Regions from separate parts of the Homo sapiens genome. Here all the other regions are linked to region 2. Evidence: promoter capture Hi-C in 16 types of primary human blood cells and fetal thymus (Javierre and others, 2016). All regions are on one chromosome and are shown on one strand. Each heading gives the region's core, a stretch centred on a gene start or on the middle of the fragment in contact. The rest is flanking DNA. Distances are from core to core; before and after follow the strand shown.

Region 1 (3,560 bases), core at 387-2,886, 620 kb after region 2:
CTGTAAGATCCCGTATGAATACTAATATTCTATGTATAGCAGTTTTTTGGTTTCTATTTCAGAATGGTAATGAGGCTGTACCAAAAATTGGAGTGCCACTGTCGTCTATGGAACTAGCGCTGTCAGAAATTTGCTTATCCAGCTCAGTTTATGATAAGTAGCACATGCATTGAAGTCCTCAAGAAAGAGCTGCCCTAGCTGTCTGAAATTCATCCAGGAGGCATCCCAGGCTTAATATCCTCTTACTGAGCCCACCTACCCTGGTGAACAAATTGACTCCCTCCACCAGGCATTGCTATTCTAACCAGGACCAACCCAAAATAAGTTTTCTCTGTTTAAAAACAACAGTCTAACTGAAGTTAGGTTTTCTATGACAGAAAATCTTTTAGTGCTTCCAAGCTTTTCATAAATGACTGCATCTGATGTCTACTTTGTTCCAATTAAAATTACATTAGACTTTTATTGGGCATTCAATATACAGACTTTAGGAGAAGAATTCTCATGAGTACTGAAATACTAACAGCTGGAAATATGTATAAATAAATCTACATAAGAGTTTTTGAGTGTTCTCAGCAGGGTCCTGGGGAAAAATAAGTGAGGAATTTAAACTATTTCTTGCTATATTATTATTGGTAACTTTGGAAGGAGGCATAAAGCAATGTACTGTGAGGCTACCTTCAGCATGGGACAGTCTAATGAAAGAAAAGATATCTGACATTTACAAGAAAAGCCTTCATGTCCCTGGATTTAAATTCAGTGAGTGTTAAAGTATCCTGTTTCATGCTTGTAAAGCTAATTCCTGCTTACTGAAGAACTTACCACTTTTCTAGTAGATGGAAGCTGGCTGTTTAACTGTCCTCAGGTAAGCAGTTCGACTCATTTGCTCTCCTAACCAAATTTTAATCAAGGGAAAACTGTCAACATAGAGAGCAGTTTAGATATGTTCACTTTTCTCCTTCTAAAATGTCTTCTTGCTATCTAAAATGTGCCCAAATACAACCAAATAATAGAGTTGCCAAAATAGTTTCATGAAATTCTGAGTGATAATCACAAAGACACCAGGATGAGTACCAAGGCCAGGTTAGTTTTCTGAGAACATCATTATTTAGGGTTTTAAGTCTTAAAGCTTTGTTTTGTTTTCAGACTCTTTTTTTTTTTCCAAAGAATTTTGATACCAATTTCATCAAGATGCAAAAAAGGGTCTAGTTATTAAAATTAATTAAATTTTCTTTTAATTAACAAATACTTCTTGAGTACCTACTTTCTGAGACACTGTGAATAGCATTGCAAACACCAGTATAAAGACATCCTTCCAACTGTGTGTAAATAATACCTTTCAGTATTACATGTTTTTTTCAGATGAATAAGTTCAGGCAAAGGGATATGCTCATGAACAGAGCACTGACAGAAATTCTTTTTACCCTGTGTTTCATCTTACCTCAATCCTGCCTCCTGTAACACAGATGCCTTCTTGGACCATAAGGTCTGGGGAAACACACAAAGTGTGGCACAACAGCGACTTGGAAGAAGCTTAAGTCACTGAGAAGCAGAGGCACCTCACTAGCCCTGGATGATACACCTCTGGATTTTTATATGAGAAAGAAAAAACACTTATGTTTTGTTAAGCTGGTTGTAATTTTAAGATTTTCTCTTATTAAAGCTAAAATTATGATCAAATCACCTCCCAATCTCCTTTTGCCTTATAAATCCTTCACCACATAGACCAGAAATCATTCCTACTGACAAGCTTCCCCTGATAAGGACTAACCAAAGCAGCTAAAATGTAAAGTAAAATAAATTTCTACAATGCAGCATAAATAGGAAATATGACATAGAACCTAAGAAACAGAGGATTGAGAAAATGTGAGGCACAGACAAATTTAAAGAGATTTCTAAGCACTTACAGAAAGTTTAAGGATTCCCAAGCAGGATGAATAAAACAATATTTATATACAGACAATTATTAGTGAAACTACAGAACACAAACAACTCTTAGAAGCAGCAAACTATTTCTAACTCCACATAATCTAATCACTTAAAAACTGGTAAATAGACTGAATTGAATTCTCAGTAACAATAGAAGTCGGAAGACAGTGAATCGTCTTTAACGTGTCAAGAAAAATAACTCTCAGCTGAGATTTCTGTGCCCAGTAATAGAACATTTCAAGAGCAAGTAAAAAATAACGATCATTTCTTTAATTTAGAGATTTTGACAGCATAGAAAATAATTTTGGAAAGAAAATAATTCTATTAAAATACCTGGGATGCAAGAAGAAGTGGTGAGTAAAGGTATTGGTAAATATGAGCTAAATCAAAACGCCAATAGACTACATTAGGGAGAGTAATAGTATAAACTTTGAGGGATTAAAAAAGGCAAACTTTTGATTGAATCAAAACACTCATCAGCATCTTCATATTAGAAAGAAAGGAGTTGGAGGCTAAAATATTTAAGTTGTTGAATTATTTCAGAACATCTAAATACATCGATTGATGTATGACTCAAAGTATACACCAAAATAATAGGTATAGAGTAATTTGTAAACTGGCAAAGAAAAAAAAACATGGAAAGGAGATAAATAAAGGGGAAAAATAAGTTCAATAAATCTTGAAGATGGCTTGAGAAGAAAAACAGAAAATAAATAGGAAATGAAAAATAAATCAGTCATCTGTGGTGTGACTTTGGGAATGATGATGTGACGTTTTCTATGAAACCTCTCCCATAAGGAGACATTTTATTAAAGGTATCAAAAACATGAAAAATAAAATATTCAAAATCTATCCAAATTGATTGAAGAACTTGTAACAAATTAAGAGGCATTTACTCAGCACATCTACAGAACTTGGTAAGAGCGGGGCAGGTCATGTCATTGGAACTCAGAGCTGCACCCATTCCTCCACAGTTCTGTATGCTGAAAGAGTAATTTTTCTGGGCTCAACAGCAAAGTGGTAGTTTTCATATCCCCCAACTTTCTATTAAATAGTATGGAATTGCTATTTTGGGTGGACTCAATAACAAATAAAACATGGTCAGATCCCGTCTTACCTGGCTCTGCGTTGCTGAAGATATATACTGGGCAGTGGTGGCAGCTAGATGATGACTCCAATTCTTCCTTCCCTAACAACTTGTTCCTCAGGGAGGATCATCATGGCACAGGCAGTGAAAAGAGGTTTCTAATCTACCCCTAGATATATATAGGCAAGAGAAATGAAAACGTGTCCACACAAAATCTTGCACACAAATGTTCATACCATCAGCATTTATGATAGTTAATAGGGGAAACACAGCTCTCCATCAATTGACGAATAGGTAAACAAAATATAGTATAACTCAAAATGTTATACATATTAAAGTGAGTTACAAATAACATGTTACGTGATTCCAATCATACAAAATATGCAAAATAGGCAATTCCATAGAGAAATATGATAGATTAGTGGTTGCTTAGGACTTACGGAAGGGAGATGTGACGGCTAATGGGTATAAGGTTTCTTTTGGAGTGATGAAAATGTTCTCAAATTACATTATAGTAAAGCCTGTACTACTCTGTAAATAGACAAAA
Region 2 (3,244 bases), core at 647-3,146:
TACAGCAGAAGCTAGTTAGTCCCAGGAATAGTGTCCACTTGCCTGAATCTGAGTGCGCGCTCAAGGCCACACTGAGCGCTGCGCCATGTGAACTAAGCTTGTGCGCCTCCTTGGGAGAACAGTCTGGGTTGGACTTTGGCCGGGCGAGCAAGGCTGCTGCTGCCAGCTGATCTGCTCGGGATCCGCCGGTCGGATCTGGGTGCTTAAGGCCGACCCTGCCTTTCGCGCAACGCTAAGGAGCAGCTCCGGGGTGCACAGCCCTCCCTGATTGTTACTCTCTGGCTGAGGCCTGGTCAGGTCTCGAAGAAGGTCTCACCAAAGAGGCGTGGGTCAGCTAAGACCCCCGCAGAAGGTGGAAACTCTCAAACCCATCAGCATGCCCACCACAGCTGGGCTTGGCCTCACCATCCTCAGAGTCCGGGCTGCTCGGCCTGCCCGAGGCCTCACCATAATTGCCAGACTTGTCTGGGGAAACGCGACGGCCGCTGTGAGTGCCAGTGTTGACAAAGGCTGTGTCAGGACGTCTAAGCAGAGGCCTACCTGGACCAAAACCTGTCTGGCTTATTTTCACCAAATTTGCTAGCTTAGGGTGCCTGACGCAAATGCGATTTTGTGCCCAGGGCACCGAACGCATTTCCCCCAAGCGCCGCGGGCTCCTAGGAAGCCAAGAGTCGTGCCAAAAGTCACACAGAAGGGCTTTCAACCTAGCAGTGCTGTCCTGCCTGCCCTACCATCCCCTCTGGTGGAAATGGAGGCCTTGGACCTGTCCGCGCCCAGGACGCCGCGCCGCGAGTGCCCGCAGCTCCGCGCGCTCACCACTCACTCCCAGAGCGCTTTTCGGAGTAACTCCACAGCAACTCTTTAAAATTAAAAGTAATTTCTGTAAAAATATGCAGACATTCCTCTTCTTCATAAACCCCTATTTGTAACAATCCTCACTTTGGCATTAGAGTAAAAGCCTTTCAAAGGCACTGATCCTAACGGGTTTTCTTAAAATAATTTGGGTCTAATGATAAAATCGTGGACCAAAGGGAAGGGTGGCGAAGAGGGTGTAGGGAATTGGTTGGCATTAGTATAATGGCTTCATTGCCTCTTGCTCGGCTTCTCTCTCCCACCCATCGCCACCGCGTCCACACTCCGCCGCATTCCAGAGAAAAAGAAAAGGCCACGGCCTCGTAAAGCTCCCAGCTGGCCCGGACCCCGAGCTCCTCCCGGTTAGAAGCCGAAGCGGCCCCTCTACTACGGCGGCTGCGATTAACAGTTGCCAATGCATCTGGTTCCTTGGGCTTCGGATTAATGTGAATCTTCCACGTAAACGATTTACGGATGAAATAAAAGCCTTTTAGAGCAATATTTCCTTTCAAGTTCTTAAGACGCCTCTAAATCTTTCTGGTAGTGAGTGGCCGGCATGGGGGCGGGGTGGGGACGGGTGGCTCAGGAAGGCGCAGGCAGTAGGGAGTGGAGGTTTAACTGCTTTGCGATCTCACCAAGATCTTCCGAAATGCCAGTCCACTGTCACGGCGGCAATGAATCTGGGTGTCAGGGGCTCGTCTCTCCTGGCATTTGTCTGAAATGGAGCTGTCTGTCTGTCTATCCTAGGCCTGGACGCCCTCTGCCCGGGTAAGTGGGGAAAATGGGGGTGGGGTAGGGGCGGAGGGGGACCTGGGGTGGAGTTAGTCGCCCGCCTATTTTCATATTCATTAGAACTGGGAGGCTGCCCGAGGAGGCCAGCTGAGTTTCAAGATATAAAAGCAACTTCGGGTGCTCCTTTTCCAGCCGGGACGTATTAAAGGGACCGGAGCGGGGCAGTTCCCGACGCCGCAGCGCTCGCTTTCCCTTCCCTCCTCTCTGGCCCTCCCTCCTCCCACCCACTGGCTCCCTCCCCCAGCGCTCTCCAGTTTCTGTGCCCCAGGAGCTACGCGACAGTCTTCCAGGATTATGGAGTTTCTGAGCGAGAAGTTTGCCCTCAAGAGCCCTCCGAGTAAAAACAGTGACTTTTACATGGGCGCAGGAGGTCCTCTGGAGCACGTTATGGAGACGCTGGACAATGAGTCCTTTTACAGCAAAGCGTCTGCAGGCAAATGCGTGCAGGCCTTCGGACCCCTGCCCCGCGCCGAGCATCACGTGCGCTTGGAGAGGACCTCGCCCTGTCAGGACAGCAGCGGTGAGTCGCTAGCGCCCCAGCCGGAGCCGCCGCAGCCCTTCCGCAATCGAAAATGCAGGATCGGTCTGATCAGGCAGGGAGGGAGAAAGGAGAAAAGTGGGAGCGAGGGACCTGGAAGGTGGAGGAAGGTAGTGGAAGGTGCTCGCTTTATGAAGCGGTGTTACTGCTGCTGCAGCCTTTGGGGGCGGAGGGCGGAGGGAGGGAGAGATCCAGCACCGGGTTGCCTCTGAGCGATTCTCCTTTCGCTGTAGGGTCTGGTCGCCTACGGATCCCTGAGTCCTTCTGTAATATTGGTTCCTGGAGTAAACTGATAGGGCGCTAAATAGAGCGTAATTGAGTCAAGACAGAACGCTTCCTCTGCGAGCCCGCCTTGCAGTCCGGGCGGTAGGAACTGAAATCGATCACAGCTCGTTAGAGTACGTCACTGTCGTCACGAGTAGGGAAAAAAAAACCGGAAAACAAAAACAAAAAACAAAAAACCCTTTGAGCTCCTTTAGGTAAAGATAAATCTTTTTAATTTTCCAAGACGTGGCGATATATTTTCAAAGTTTGAGGATCCCTAGATTTCTAGCGTGTGTGAATTTGTAATTTCTGCTTTTTTTTGCGTTTGCAATACAACACGCGTTGAATGTTTGTTAAACACTAAAGCACACTAAATAGCTTCGGGCAAACCATCCCCGGCCTAATCACTCATTCCCAGATTCTACGTTTTGTATTTTTATGACTTCACATTAAAAGTCACCTAAGGAGTCTTTGGAATGCTTCTGGGTGAAATCTTCAACTTTGAATGCCCAAGTATCTCCAAGTCAAAATGTTATCAAAACAAACCATCTATCTTTTCTATCTTGTAACCTAATACTAACCTATTATTTCAGATCGCGACAGCTAAAGCACGTTTACAATTCCAAGAGAACTTCTCCTTATCATTGTATATATTCCACAGTTAAGCTATAAGGGGCGGGTTGCTTTAAAATAACAAACGAATTAAGTGTGAAATATTTACAACAAGCCCCCTGCCCCCTATTTTATAGAAATTCAAAATCTGACAAAACACTGGCCTGTAGAAGCTCATTTTCTAAA
Region 3 (3,641 bases), core at 1,125-3,624, 640 kb after region 2:
TTATCTCCTAAGAGCTTTAGTGTTTTGCCTTTCCTATTTATATCCCAAATTGACCTTGAAATTACTTGTGTATCAATGTAGAGAAAGGATGAATTTTCTTTTTTTTCCAGATGAGTATTCATTTTTCCCAGAATTATTTATTGAAAGGCTTTTACTTCCCCACTATTCTACAGTGCCGAATTTATCATGAATTAAGTGTTCACTTACTTAGTTTATAGTGTGTAATACTCTACTCAGTTGCATTTAGCAATTTTCTATCCTTGAAGTAATATCACACTCATAATCACTTCAACTTAGTAGTAATCTTGATTGTTCATTAAACAAACCCTCCTACCTTTTTTTCTTCTTCAAGAATGTTAGTTATTTTTGTTACCCTTGTATTCCATTAAAAATTTGGAATTAGCTTGTCAAGTACCACACATACAAACAAAACCTGTAAGGATTTTTATAAGTATTGCATTAAATCTGTAGATCAATTTTAGAAAAATGAACAACTTCAAAATATTGAATTTTATAATCCACATACCTGGCATATCTTTTTTCTAACACTCCTTTAATCTCCCTCAAAAGTAAAAAAAGATAATTTTGCATAGAGCTCTTGCAATGTTTTGTTAAATTTATTTCTACATAATATTGTTATTGTTCTTATAAACAATAACTTAATTTGTTATCACTTCATAAAAATATACTTGATTTTTAAAAATATATTTACCTATTTAAGTCCTTTGTCCATTTTTGAATTGGGGTTTTTGTTGCTGTTTTAAGAGTCTTCTACAGATTATAGGTGTTAGTCCCTTACGAGACATGTGATTTGTAAAGCTGTTTTTTGTTTTTTTTTTTTCCTTCTGTAAGTTATCTTTTTACCAGCACCACTTTTACTGTTCTTTTACTATTGAATGGTCTTGGCACCACTAAGGAAGTCATTTGACCATATATGCCAAAATTAATTTCTGGGATCTTTAATCTGTTACAATGGACTGTAAGTCTGTCTTTATTCCAGTACCACAATGTTTTGATTACTGTAGCTTTGTAGTAAGTTTTGAAATAAGAAAGTATGAGTAATCCAATTTTGTTCTTTTTTGTCAAGATTATTTTGGTGATTTGAGGCCCCTTAGGTTACATATTAATTTTAGGATTTATTTTTCTATTTCTTTAGAAAACAATGTCGAGATTTTGATAGGGATTGCAATGAATCTTTAAATTGTTTGGGGAAGTATTGACATCTTAACAATTTGAAGTCTTCCAATTAAAGAATATAGGATATCTTTCCATTTATTGATGTCTTCTTTAATTTCTCTCATAAGTGTTCTGTAGTTTTCATTGTACAAGTCTCTCACTCCCTTGGTTAATTCCTAAGTATTTTCTTCTTTTTGGTACTATTGTAAACAGATTTGTTTTCTTAATTTTCTTTTTGGATTGTTCATTGTTAAAGTATAGGGTCACAAATAATTTGTGTTGATTTTGTATCCTGCTACTTTACTAAATTTGTTTATTCATTTTAAGTGATGTTTTAAGTAGAATCTTTAGGGCTTTCTGTATGCAAGATTATATCATCTGCCTTAGAAAGGAGCGTCACAATAATTTATCAAGAATTTGTCTCCATTTACTTCAATACTTTTATGGTGGTGAAAATAGGTTAGAATGACTATTGGTATATAAATTTAAAAGAATAATAGATAATTAAAGATATTTTGATGAGTGGCAGGTTATTTAAACACATTTGTGCTATAGATAAAGAAACTTAATGTCAGTTTATTTATTTATTTACTTTTGAGATGATGGAGTCTCACTCTGTCACACAGGCTGGAGGGCAGTGGCGCGATCTCGGCTCACTGCAACCTCCGCCTACCGGGTTCAAGCGATTCTCCTGCGTCAGCCTCCCGAGCAGCTGGGACTGCAGGCAGGTGCTACCACGCCAGCTAATTTTTGTATTTTTTTAGTAGAGACGGGGTTTCACCATATTGGCCAGTCTGGTCTCAAACTCCTGACCTCGTGATCCACCCGCCTCAGCCTCCCAAAGTGCAGGGACTACAGGAGTGAGCCACCGCGCCAGGCCTGATGTCAGTATATTCAAAAGCTTCGAGTTCTCTGACTGTGGAGTTAACCTTTGCTCCTCAGTTACTTTGAGGCATTGTAAATCCTGGGGCCTAATTCACATGGACCTCCTTTAGAATAATCAAAGATGAGATAAAAATACAGAATATTTTTATAGCATTTTAATTATCTTGGAAAATAGTCAAGTTAATTACTCTCTTTAAAAACTAAAAAACACAACTTCATTTCCTGATCGTACCGGAAAAAGAGAACCTATAAGTTATCTTTACACATTCCAATAATCTTTATTACATCACCTTATATGGCATTTTAAAGTTGCCATTAGCATAACTTATTGTTGTGATTGTATATCTATAAATAATCTTATATTTAGGAGTATAAGGCAGATGGGTTTTCTTGCACAATTCATAATTTCAAGGATGTGAACAGAGAAATAAAAATGATACAAAGATAGGTGCATAGATTATAGGATCTAATTTTGGAATTATAGACAAATTTCAGAGATGCACGGAAAAGACTACCTGTGACGATAAGCAAATCTAAAGAGGGCGTTTAAAATATATTTTTATTTTTTGCATTATATTGCCACCTAGTGGTTACAACAGATATGAAAAGCAAAGCTTTTATAACCTTTGATGTCAGAAAGCCTTAACAGTCAACAAATACTGAAAAGAGAGAAGAGATGAATACATTTTAATGTTACTTTCTTTTTTCATTTTCTCTGCTCATCTGCTTAGAGAGATAATCACTAGTTCTGTGGAAGGCAGGAGGGGAAATAATTCAGACCCTTCCCACTAGCAGTGACTATGGCTAAATTTCTGCTTACATACTTGAAGACAAACATACAGCATCAACAGGATATTAATTTCTTTATAAAGACTATACAGTCTAGACAGTATTTAATAAGAATATGTGCCCTACTAAATAACTCTGGCTTTTATTCTAAATAAATATTTTTCTTTTTAATTGCAAGGAGCCCTCAGTTTAGCTCAGAATTCCCTTGCTGAGCCACCATAAGAAAATGGTGCTAATACAAAATACAAATACAAAATAGTCTCCCCATCCCCTATTTCTCTATCTTTTTGCTGTATCTGGCCAAGCTTTGAATAGTCTCCCCTATTCAAATTTTTCAACTCATATGAAAAGAGAAATGCCAATTCGTTCTTTAACATTGTAGGCCAGCATTTCTTGCATAATATTATAACCAATAAAATTTGAGCTCAATGAATAATGACCATATATCACATTATATATTTTGAATTTTAAAATTAAAAAATTATATTTATATATTTATTTGTGTCCAAATTGGAATAAAAATAATTTTATTTATAAAAATAATTTTCATTTAATGAAGTTTAACAGTACAAAATAAGCTATAAAGCTACCACCTTTAAGTTGTTCATCTCCTTACCAACTAGTATATAAGGTCATATATTTTATATATGATTTTCTGAGGCTTAGTAGAGAAGGAAACCCTGGAAATTATAATATACTTAGAAAACCTGGTATATGTCCAGGGAAGTCAAATTTGTTAAAACATAATAAACATTTATTAAATAAGTGAAGGAATGACTAAATGAATGGAT

What was found. The method cuts DNA at HindIII sites, captures the fragments that hold promoters and counts their contacts. A CHiCAGO score of 5 or more calls a contact.
Region 1: a contact is called between a fragment that was not itself captured here and the fragment with the promoter of ALX1 in region 2, in 1 of 17 cell types (M1 macrophages). The highest score is 5.3, in M1 macrophages.
Region 3: a contact is called between a fragment that was not itself captured here and the fragment with the promoter of ALX1 in region 2, in 3 of 17 cell types (megakaryocytes, M1 macrophages and M2 macrophages). The highest score is 6.1, in megakaryocytes.

What each region holds. Positions count from the first base shown.
Region 1 is chr12:85,898,854-85,902,413 of GRCh38, forward strand. No RefSeq gene overlaps it. Among named protein-coding and RNA genes, the nearest start is that of NTS, 26 kb to the left of the region's middle. The HindIII fragment of the contact is 217 bases long and covers 1,529-1,745 here.
Region 2 is chr12:85,278,324-85,281,567 of GRCh38, forward strand. ALX1 (ALX homeobox 1) reads left to right here and starts at 1,897. Exons shown (of 4, transcript NM_006982.3): 1 at 1,897-2,164. The coding sequence starts at 1,939. RefSeq lists a silencer at 1,988-2,282. The HindIII fragment of the contact is 8,678 bases long and covers 96-3,244 here.
Region 3 is chr12:85,917,896-85,921,536 of GRCh38, forward strand. No RefSeq gene overlaps it. Among named protein-coding and RNA genes, the nearest start is that of NTS, 45 kb to the left of the region's middle. The HindIII fragment of the contact is 598 bases long and covers 2,076-2,673 here.